Regions from separate parts of the Homo sapiens genome. Here region 1 is linked to region 2. Evidence: promoter capture Hi-C in 16 types of primary human blood cells and fetal thymus (Javierre and others, 2016). All regions are on one chromosome and are shown on one strand. The core of a region is centred on a gene start or on the middle of the fragment in contact, and the rest is flanking DNA. Distances in the headings are between cores, read along the strand shown.

What was found. Contacts are between HindIII fragments. The CHiCAGO score rates a contact against its expected background, and 5 or more counts as called.
Region 1: a contact is called between a fragment that was not itself captured here and the fragment with the promoter of FBXW5 in region 2, in 2 of 17 cell types (endothelial precursors and erythroblasts). The highest score is 6.9, in endothelial precursors.

Annotation. Positions count from the first base shown.
Region 1 is chr9:136,751,947-136,757,109 of GRCh38, reverse strand. It overlaps LCN8 (lipocalin 8), which reads left to right. Exons shown (of 7, transcript NM_178469.4): 2 at 1-72; 3 at 518-588; 4 at 1,594-1,698; 5 at 1,777-1,866; 6 at 1,950-1,975; 7 at 2,601-2,724. The coding sequence ends at 2,612. Among named protein-coding and RNA genes, the nearest start is that of LCN8, 3.7 kb to the left of the region's middle. The HindIII fragment of the contact is 243 bases long and covers 1,463-1,705 here.
Region 2 is chr9:136,941,027-136,945,987 of GRCh38, reverse strand. It overlaps FBXW5 (F-box and WD repeat domain containing 5), which reads left to right and starts at 1,250. Exons shown (of 9, transcript NM_018998.4): 1 at 1,250-1,394; 2 at 1,882-2,097; 3 at 2,482-2,639; 4 at 3,045-3,219; 5 at 3,293-3,441; 6 at 3,522-3,942; 7 at 4,304-4,451; 8 at 4,525-4,737; 9 at 4,817-4,961. The coding sequence starts at 1,905. C8G (complement C8 gamma chain) reads right to left here and starts at 745. Exons shown (of 7, transcript NM_000606.3): 1 at 530-745; 2 at 218-354; 3 at 1-59. The coding sequence starts at 667. RefSeq lists silencers at 1,207-1,786, 2,167-2,236 and an enhancer at 2,072-2,837. The HindIII fragment of the contact is 9,073 bases long and covers 1-4,961 here.

The DNA of each region.
Region 1 (5,163 bases), core at 335-2,834, 190 kb after region 2:
CCCGAAGCGGGTGGAGGGCTTGTTCCTCACCTTGAGCGGGAGTAACCTGACCGTGAAGGTTGCATATAACAGGTAAGAGGCCTGGGGGCTGCTGGAGAGGAAGAGGCATGCATGGCCGGGGACTGGGCGTGGGTTGCTGCACCCGCTGCAGCGTGGGGTCTGGGCTGAGTGCCGTCCCGCTGGTGGGCCAGCACTCCCGGTGCCCGTCTGCCTGAGCCCTCGACCCCCAGGCTCCTGGATCTGCATTTTATCCCAAATATAAGCATAGTGTTTTAATGAAGCCCCGTGAACTTAGAAGGAAGGAAAAGGGGTGTGGGACAGGTGACTGGCTGGAGGGAACAGAATCCCCAGGGGAAGGCCCCACCTGGCACATTCCCCGCCTCATCCTGCTCCAGGCCTGGGATACTCCACAGTGCTGCCTGTGCCCTTCCTAAAGACACAGCCCCACTCCGGGAAGGAGCCCAGCAGGCGGGACACAGGCTAGCATTTTACCGATGGGCACTTTGCTGCCTTTCAGCTCAGGAAGCTGTGAGATAGAGAAGATCGTGGGCTCAGAAATAGACAGTACGGGAAAATTCGCTTTTCCTGGTAAGTGCAGTTGCCCTGTGATGGCAGGTGGAACCCGGCTGTGCACACAGCTAGGCCTTATTGTTCCCCATGCTGTTCCCTGCACTGTTCCCCATGCTGTTCCCTGCACTGTTCTCTGTGCTGTTCCCTGCACTGTTCCCCATGCTGTTCCCTGAACTATTCCCTGTGCTGTTCCCCATGTTGTTCCCTGCACTGCTCCCTGCACTGTTCCACATGCTGTTTCCTGCACTATTCCCCATGCTGTTCCCTGCACTTTTCTCTGCGCCATTCCCCATGCGTTCCCTGCACTGTTCCCTGCACTGTTCCCCATGCTGTTCCCTGCGCTGTTCCCCATGCTGTTCCCTGCACTGTTCCTCATGCTGTTCCCTGCGCTGTTCCACATGCTGTTCCCTGCGCTGTTCCCCATGCTGTTCCCTGCACTGTTCCCCATGCTGTTCCCTGCAATGCTCCCTGCACTGTTCCCCGCACTGCTCCCTGCACTGTTCCCCATGCTGTTTCCTGCACTATTCCCCATGCTGTTCCCTGCACTTTTCTCTGTGCCGTTCCCCATGCATTCCCTGCACTGTTCCCTGCACTGTTCCCCATGCTGTTCCCTGCAATGCTCCCTGCACTGTTCCCCGCACTGCTCCCTGCACTATTCCCCATGCTGTTCCCTGCACTTTTCTCTGTGCCGTTCCCCATGCATTCCCTGCACTGTTCCCTGCACTGTTCCCCATGCTGTTCCCTGCACTGTTCCCCATGCTGTTTCCTGCACCGTTCCCCATGCTGTTCCCTGCAGGGTTCCCTGCACTGTTCCCCATGCTGTTCCCTGCACATTTCATGCCCCAGACCTTCCCATTCTCCCACCAACACACTGGATCATCCTTCAAAAGCTTCTGTAGTGTCTCCAACCACTCAAGTGCTGGGACTGGGTGGGGGCAGGATGGAGTTAGACCCTGCAGACCCTGGCCTTCGAGGTCCGTCCCCCTCAGACGTCTCCCCCAACGCCATGGCCGGCTCTTGAAGGCCACAGAGAGATCCACGTGCTGGACACCGACTACGAGGGCTACGCCATCCTGCGGGTGTCCCTGATGTGGCGGGGCAGGAACTTTCGCGTCCTCAAGTACTTTAGTAAGCTTGGCCCTGGGGGGCTCTGCCCAGCTGCTGCTCTCCCAGGGACTGCCCGCCCAGCCCCCCTGTGCCCCACAGCTCGGAGCCTTGAGGACAAGGACCGGCTGGGGTTCTGGAAGTTTCGGGAGCTGACAGCAGACACTGGTCTCTACCTGGCGGCCCGGCCTGGTGAGCCCAGGGGCCTTGGGGTGGAGGCTGGGCTGGGCCCTGTGGGCTGACTCTGCAGCTCCTCATGCTGGCCTATCCTGCAGGGCGGTGTGCCGAGCTCCTGAAGGAGGTGAGCCTGACCCCCGACCCTGGCCTGTGCTGAAGTTCCCGGGCCCCTGGCCCAGTCCCTGGCCCTGTCAGGAGCCCCCGTGGCTCCGCCTCCCGGCCCTGGGCTGGGCCTTCTCACCCCTTCCTGTGAACAGGACACCAAACACCACTGGTGGGCAGCTCCAGAGATGAGTCTGTCTCCTGGTTTGGAAAGAGCTGGAACCTCCAGGGTGGTGACCCTAGGCTGCCAGGCAGGGACCCTGGGAGGCTGGGGTCACGGGGTGCAGAGCTGGGTGGGGCAGGGGAGCAGAAATGGCGCCTTTTCTTCGGTGTTCTGTGCAGGACTGCCGGCTGCTTCTGCCCCCGAAGGTCCCGTCGGCGGCGGGGCACAGATCCTGCGGGCGCTGCCTCAGGGCTCCCATGTTGGGCACTGCGAGAACCCAGTGTCTCCCTCACCTCGCTTTGTCTTGGCCCTAGAGGCTGGGCCTGTTACCCCATTTTGCAGATTGAGAAGGCGCTCAGGGAGCTGGGTGCTTTGCGCAAAACCAGGCAGCGAGGACAGAAGTCCCGCCGTGTGGCCCTCATCGAAGCCCCGTGGGGCCTCCAGAGACCACACGGGCCTGAGCCCCTGCACTTCTGTGTCGCAGGAGCTGATTTAATGGAGTTCCTGCCTCAGACCACAAGGTTCGGAGCGCCCGCCCACCCCTGCCCCTCCTGGGCACCCTGCCCACCAGGTCACCTGCACCTGCTCTGAATAAACTGTGAAGTCAAGCCACTGCCTGGTGTGTCCTTCCGGAGGGCCGATGGGTGACAGGTGTGGGGGGACTCACCCGCCCCAGGTCTGGCAACAGGAGGTGTGTTTTCCGTGGTTACTGGACAAACAGTGCAGCTCACGTGCAAGGCAGCAACCCCTGCCCTCCCGCCCTGCTAGGGTCGTGGTCAGGCTGCCCCAGGGTATAGACCAGAGACAGAAACAGGGCTCCTGGTGGAGTCTCAGCAGGTCTGTCAAACGCATGGAGGCCACACCCCTCCTGCCTGCATCCTCCATGGCTCCCCACTGCCCAGGGCTCCAGGCTCACGGCCCGTGCTGAAGGCCCTACCCGATGGGCCCCGCTTCCAGCCTCCCTGGACCCCCAGCTGCCCAGCCCTGCTCAGTGTCCGCTTCCACAGTGGGCTGTCACCCCGTGGCCTCGGCTGCCACCAGCCGACTGCATCACTTTCTCCTCCCGCCTGGCCTGGGACACGGGAAGGGCAAGGAAAGTGACAGTGTCAGCCCGGAGGTTCTGCGCCCAGGCCCCTGGGGAATCAGCCGGTCCCCACATATGCAGGTGAGACAACCCAGGCTTATGAGGGTGGCTGCCTCGTCGGGGCGGCGGAAAATGATACCTGAGGTCGAGTGGTGCCGGGAGCTCTGGGGGAACAGCCCGAGTAGGGGGACCTCGCCAGCCCCCAGCACGGCCGGGACACTGGAAAGGCCCTGCTAGGAACAAGGGCTGCACCCTAGATGCGCCTCAAATCCAGAACTGTGCCCCCGAGACCCACAGGAGGGACATGTAGAGGCTGCATTCTGACAAGTTAGGGGCTCCTGGGAAACAGCCGTGACTTTGCGCAGCTGTGCCTGGCCGAAGCCCACGGGTTCAAGGAGCTTCGCCTGGACTTGGATTTCCTGCTGGAGGGGCTGTCACTCTCGCTGTCAGCTCAGGCTCCCGTGACAAAATACCCCAGACTGGGCACCTTAAACAACAGAACTGTATTTCCTCACCGTTCTGGAGGGTGGAAGTCCAAGATTAAGGTGCCGGAAAGTGCAGTTTCTGGTGAGGGCTTCCTGCCCATTCGCAGAAGGCAGCCCCTCGCTGTGTCCTCACCTGGCAGGGAGCGCTCTCTGGGTGCCTCTTTTTCTCCTAATAAGGACATCAGCCTGTTAAATTAGGGCCACTCCCTTTGACCTCACTTAATCTCGATTGTCTCCTAAGAGTCCCATCTCCTGAAACAGTGACCATGGGATCTGGGGCTTCAACGCAGGAATTTTGGGAGGGCAGAATTCATCCCAGAACAAAAGTCAGTGCTGTTTAGAGGGTGACAGTAGATGCAGGGCTGCCGTCATCAACAACGTCCTGCCCAAAAGTCACTGGACGTCCAAAGACACAGAAAAGTATGACCTATGTTAAAAAAAAAAAGAAAAAAAAAGTTACTAAAAACTGACACCGAGAAGACCCAAAGTTGTATTCAGAAGATAAAGGTCTAAAACAGCCATTATAAGTAGTTAAAAGAAAAGCAAGATATACTCTAAGGAAAGAAATAGTGACACAATAGCATTAAAGGACTAACTAATTGATAAAGAATTAAGGAGTGAATGTAGGAGATCAGATCAGGAAATCAAGAGAGAAATGGAAACTATAAAAAAGAAAAAATTATGGAACTGAAAAGTACAATAAATGAAAAATTTACTGGAAAGACTAATAGGAGTTGGCCATGGCAAAAATAATGTCCATGAATTTGAGCACAAATCAATGTAAATTATCCAGTCTGAGGAACAGAGAAGAAAATGGTTGATAGCACCTCAAAGATATGTGGGGCAAGATAAAGAATGTAAACTAGCCTGAGAAAGAGAAGAGAGTGAGAATACATGAAGAAACAGTGGCCAAAATAACCCAAACTTGATGGAAACATCAACTTAGCCCAGAGGCTCAGAGAAACCCAGGCAGGATGAAAAAGAAAGCCTCACAAAAATCACACCTGGGGACATTATAGTCAAAGCACTGCCAACCAATGATTTGGATAAAAATTTAAAGGGATCTGTGGATTAAAGACAGGGCACATCCAGGTTTGGTGGCTCACGTCTGTAATCCCAGCACTTTGGGAGGCTGAGGCGGGAAGATCACTTGAGGTCAGAAGTTTGAGACCAGCTTAGGCAACATAGTGAGACTTTGTCTCTCTTTAAGAACAAACAAAAAAGACAGGGCATGATATAGTTTGGCTCTGTGTCCCCACCCAAATCTCATGTGGCATTATTGCAATGCCCAATGTTGGAGGTAGGGCTTGGTTGGAGGTGATTGGATCATGGAGGCAGATTTCCCCTTGCTGGTCTTGTGACAGTGAGTGAGTTCTCAGGAGATCTGGTTGTTTAAAAGTGTGTAGCACTTGCCCTTTCATTCTCTCTCCTGCTGGCCATGTAAAGATGTACCTGCTTCCCCTTCACCTTCAGCTATG
Region 2 (4,961 bases), core at 1-2,500:
AGCGGCCGAGGACCCCTGTGTCTCCATAGAGCTGGCGCACCTGCCAGCAGATCCCATCCCTGGGGGGGCGGGGAGGAGGCACCACAGGCTGGGAGACCCCAACCAGGAATCCTAGTCCAGGCCACAGCCGGGGTGGGGTCAGGGGCCAGAGCAGGGCTGAAGTCCGGGGGCTGAGAGGAGGGTTGGGGTTAGGGTGCAGGGCTGCTCTGGGACTCACAGCTTTCGGAAGGTACTGACAGCCATGGCTGTGCCCTGGGGAGCCACATGCAGTGTGGTGGCCTCGGCCCGGTGGCCCTGCTCCTGCAGGAAACGGCAAGCGGAGCCCACAGCCACAAGGAGCCAGGTCCCTGCAAACTGGGGGCAGACCATGGGAGAACTCGAGGGCACTGTGGGAGGGCCCCTCACCTGCTTCCCTCTACACCCCCCACAACTTCACCTGCTTCCCTCTCCCCCGCAACAACTTCTACCTGTCTCCCTCTACCCCTCCCACAACTTCTACCTGCCTCCCTCTACCCCCCCCAACTTCTACCTGCTGAGCATCAAAATTGGCCTTGGGCTGGATGGTGCTGATGGGGGATGCGGGCCGGCGTGGCCTCTGAGGCTTCTGGCCCAGCGAGCCAGCTGCCAGGAGCAGAGTCAAGAGGGTCGCAGTCCCAGGGGGCAGCATGGTGGCGGCAGCAGGGTGGCAGGACTGTGGGAGGCCAAGGGTAGCACCACCAAGTCCCAGGACAGAGTCTACTCTGCTGTCACAGAGCCCAGCCCAGGAAGTCCATGTCCATCCGTTGCCTCCCCACCCCCCACCTCCAGCCTCCTCGTGAGCCTAGCTTCGATCTGCACTTCCTGGCAGGGCCCTGGCACCATGTCCTATGTACAAAGTCCGAGTTGACCTCTGGCTGTTTATCCATTTCTCCTGCACCCCTGATTTCCACCGACAGTCCTTAGCCCTTTACACGTTATCTTCCTTAAACCATCACCCAGTGGTCTTATCTCCATGGCCAACGTCACGGGGTTCATGAAGCCACTTGCTCAGGGCCCGGCAACAGGGAGCGCCGGAGGCGGGTCCCGAACCAGCGTTCGTTGAGCCTCGCCTGCAACCCCGCCCACGACCGCCGCCCGCTGGCCACAAGGGGCGCTGTTCCCAATGCGCCCGAGTGCGCGCAGGCGCACAAAGAAAAGCCGGCCAGGCCGCCGGAGCCCAAGGCGCAGGCGCACGAGGGGCGGATGCGGGCTACCCGCGCGCTCTGCCTTCCTCGGCCATCGATGCCTCGGGGCTCGTGGCGTCGGGCCTGGCGGGCTCCCCGTTGGGCGGGGGCGGCGGTCCGAGCGGCTGCGGCAGCGGAAGCGGGTCCGGGTCGCGCAGGGCGGGGGCGGCGCAGCGGGCGGAGGCGGCCGTGGTGAGTGCGCCTGCGGCCCTCGGGGGTCCCGCCTTGTCGTCCCCGCCCGCCTTGGGCGAGTGCAGGAGCCCCGAGGCCGCCCGTGCGCTCGTCCCCGCCGTCCGCCCCGAGCCCGCCGGGCAGAGCTGCTCCAGGGCCGCAGGGCGGAGGCCACTGCCTGGCCGCCCCGAGCTTCCTCTCGGCGGAAGCCCGTCCCCGGACGGCGCCTGGTGTCCCCGTGCCTCGCGTGCGGCGGTCCGGGCCCTGGCGGGCTGAGGGGCGCCCGCTGCCGGCCGCAGGAGGCCGGGGGATGACGCGGCGGAGAGGGGCCGGCCCGGCCCGCCCGGAGCTGCCGGGTCCTTGGTTGGGCGGCGGTACCCGGGCGTCCCCTGCAGACACGCAGCCCCGTGGAACTCCCGGCGGGACGGTTGGGGCTGGAGGAACAGGACGCCCGCTCTCGGCCTCCCTTCCCGGGCCTGGGCTGAGGGCAGCCGTTGGTGGGTTTCAGGGCCGCCTGGGCAGAATGTCACGATGGACGAGGGCGGCACGCCCCTGCTCCCCGACAGCCTGGTCTACCAGATCTTCCTGAGCCTGGGCCCGGCCGACGTGCTGGCCGCCGGGCTGGTGTGCCGCCAATGGCAGGCCGTGTCGCGGGACGAGTTCCTGTGGAGGGAGCAGTTCTACCGCTACTACCAGGTGGCCCGCGACGTGCCCCGACACCCAGGTCAGTGGCGTGTGGGGCCCCTACCCACGTTCTGCAGCCAGGGCCCCGGGCCCCTGCGCTTGGGGGTCAGCCTGGCTGGGGGCCCGCCCCGCGGCCCCGCGTGTCCATGCTCACCCCCCCACACCCTGATAGAGGCCTGTCAGGACACAGCGCAGGCGCCCCTCAGAGCTTGGAGGCCAGAGGGTTCATTGGGTCACTTGGGGGGTGGGGGGTACAGGGGTCTCTGTGAGCTACAGGGTTGAATCCCCCAGCCGAGGCCTATGCCATGACTAGTGGGTTCCAGGGGCACCACGGGGCCTGCCAGGACTGCTGGGGCCACACTCGGCTCATGGCCGTGACTGCGAGGAAGGCCCGGGCCCAGGACTGACAACTGCCCACCCGCAGCGGCCATGTCCTGGTACGAGGAGTTCCAGCGGCTGTATGACACGGTGCCCTGCGTGGAGGTGCAGACGCTGCGGGAACACACAGACCAGGTCCTGCACCTCAGCTTCTCCCATTCCGGGTACCAGTTCGCGTCCTGCTCCAAGGACTGCACTGTGAAGGTGAGGACGGCCAGGTGTCCTGCACACCCCACCCAGCTCTGCCGCAGCACGGAGGTCCCAGGACCCAGGCGTTCCAACCAGGTGGTGGTGGGGGGGGGGGTGGGTCAGGCCAGAGGTGACAGCAGCCTCCCTGCATCCAGCGGAGGGACCACAGAGGATCAGGAGCGGTGCAGGGTGGCCCTGAGTGCTGAGGAGAGGGTCCCACACACAGCCGCCTGCTTCAGGGGCAGGCTCCTCCGCTCTATACCAATGCCCCCCGAGTGGATGACAGTGGCTGGAAGGGGTCCCTGCTCCCTGGTGGCCTCTGAGTAGGGCTGGCAGAGCTGGGGCCTCATGGCTGTGTAGTAGCAGGCCCCCGCCCCGCGACCTGGCCAGGCGATCACTACAGCCGCCCCTGCCGAACAGATCTGGAGCAACGACCTGACCATCTCGCTGCTGCACAGCGCGGACATGCGGCCCTACAACTGGAGCTACACCCAGTTCTCCCAGTTCAACAAGGACGACTCGCTACTGCTGGCCTCGGGGGTGTTCCTGGGGCCGCACAACTCCTCATCCGGCGAGATTGCTGTCATCAGCCTAGGTGAGCACGGGCGGCGGGTTGACCCTGCCCCCGCCCCACGCCGACAGCCTGTCCAGCCCCGGCCTCCCCACAGACTCCTTCGCGCTGCTGTCCCGCGTGCGGAACAAGCCCTATGACGTGTTTGGCTGTTGGCTCACCGAGACCAGCCTCATCTCGGGGAACCTGCACCGCATCGGAGATATCACCTCCTGCTCGGTGCTGTGGCTCAACAATGCCTTCCAGGTGCGTGCGGGGCTAGGGGCGGGGCTGCCCTCCTGGGGCCTGGCGCCCGGCGCCCACCTGGCACGTGCCCCCGCCCCCAGGATGTGGAGTCAGAGAACGTCAACGTGGTGAAGCGGCTGTTCAAGATCCAGAACCTCAATGCCAGCACCGTCCGCACGGTGATGGTGGCCGACTGCAGCCGCTTCGACAGCCCTGACCTGCTGCTGGAAGCCGGTGACCCGGCCACGTCCCCCTGCCGCATCTTTGACCTGGGCAGCGACAACGAGGAGGTGGTGGCTGGCCCGGCCCCCGCCCACGCCAAGGAGGGCTTGCGGCACTTTCTGGACCGCGTGCTGGAGGGGCGGGCGCAGCCACAGCTGTCGGAGCGCATGCTAGAGACCAAGGTGGCCGAGCTGCTGGCCCAGGGCCACACCAAGCCACCCGAGCGCAGTGCCACAGGCGCCAAGAGCAAGTACCTCATCTTCACCACTGGCTGCCTCACCTACTCCCCACACCAGATCGGTACACCCCTGCCGCCATGCTGCCCGCCTCGGTCCTAGGAGCTTGGGGGAGGCCGGGCAGGGGTCCTGAGGGGCAGACAGCAAGCAAGTCCACAGGCAAAGCTGGGATCGTTCACTCGCCCCTGGGGTCACAAGCCCAGACCTGGGGCCTGTGGGATGAGCAGTGAAAACAAACGCAGGCAGGGCCGCTGGCCAGCAAGCAACCGACGGGCCTGATTCAGGTCTGGGGCCCCCGGAGCAGGCAGTGCCCACGGACCTCTGTGGTGCTCACAGCCCCAGAGACACCACTGAGGTAGGAAGCTGCCCTGGAGTGATGTCCTTGGGGCATTGGACAGGGACCCTCACCGTAGCCCTCCCTGCAGGCATCAAGCAGATCCTGCCACACCAGATGACCACGGCAGGGCCCGTGCTGGGTGAGGGCCGGGGCTCCGATGCCTTCTTCGACGCGCTGGACCACGTCATAGACATACACGGACACATCATCGGCATGGGCCTGTCGCCCGACAACAGGTGGGCCTCTTGCCAGTGTCCCAGGCGGGGTGCCCGCAGGCGGCCCACACCTAGCACAGTGCCCCTCGCCCAGGTACCTGTACGTGAACAGCCGCGCCTGGCCCAACGGTGCGGTGGTGGCCGACCCCATGCAGCCGCCACCAATCGCGGAGGAGATTGACCTGCTGGTGTTCGACCTCAAGACCATGCGGGAGGTGAGGCGGGCTCTGCGTGCGCACCGCGCCTACACGCCCAACGACGAGTGCTTCTTCATCTTCCTGGACGTCAGCAGGGACTTCGTGGCCAGGTGCAGGGCGCGGCGTGGTGCAGGGCGGGTGTGGGCAGCAGCGGGCGGGCGGCCGGCTCACCCAGGCGCTGTTCTGCAGCGGGGCGGAGGACCGGCACGGCTACATCTGGGACCGCCACTACAACATCTGTCTGGCCAGGCTGCGGCACGAGGATGTGGTCAACTCAGTGGTCTTCAGTCCCCAGGAGCAGGAGCTGCTGCTCACGGCCAGCGACGACGCCACC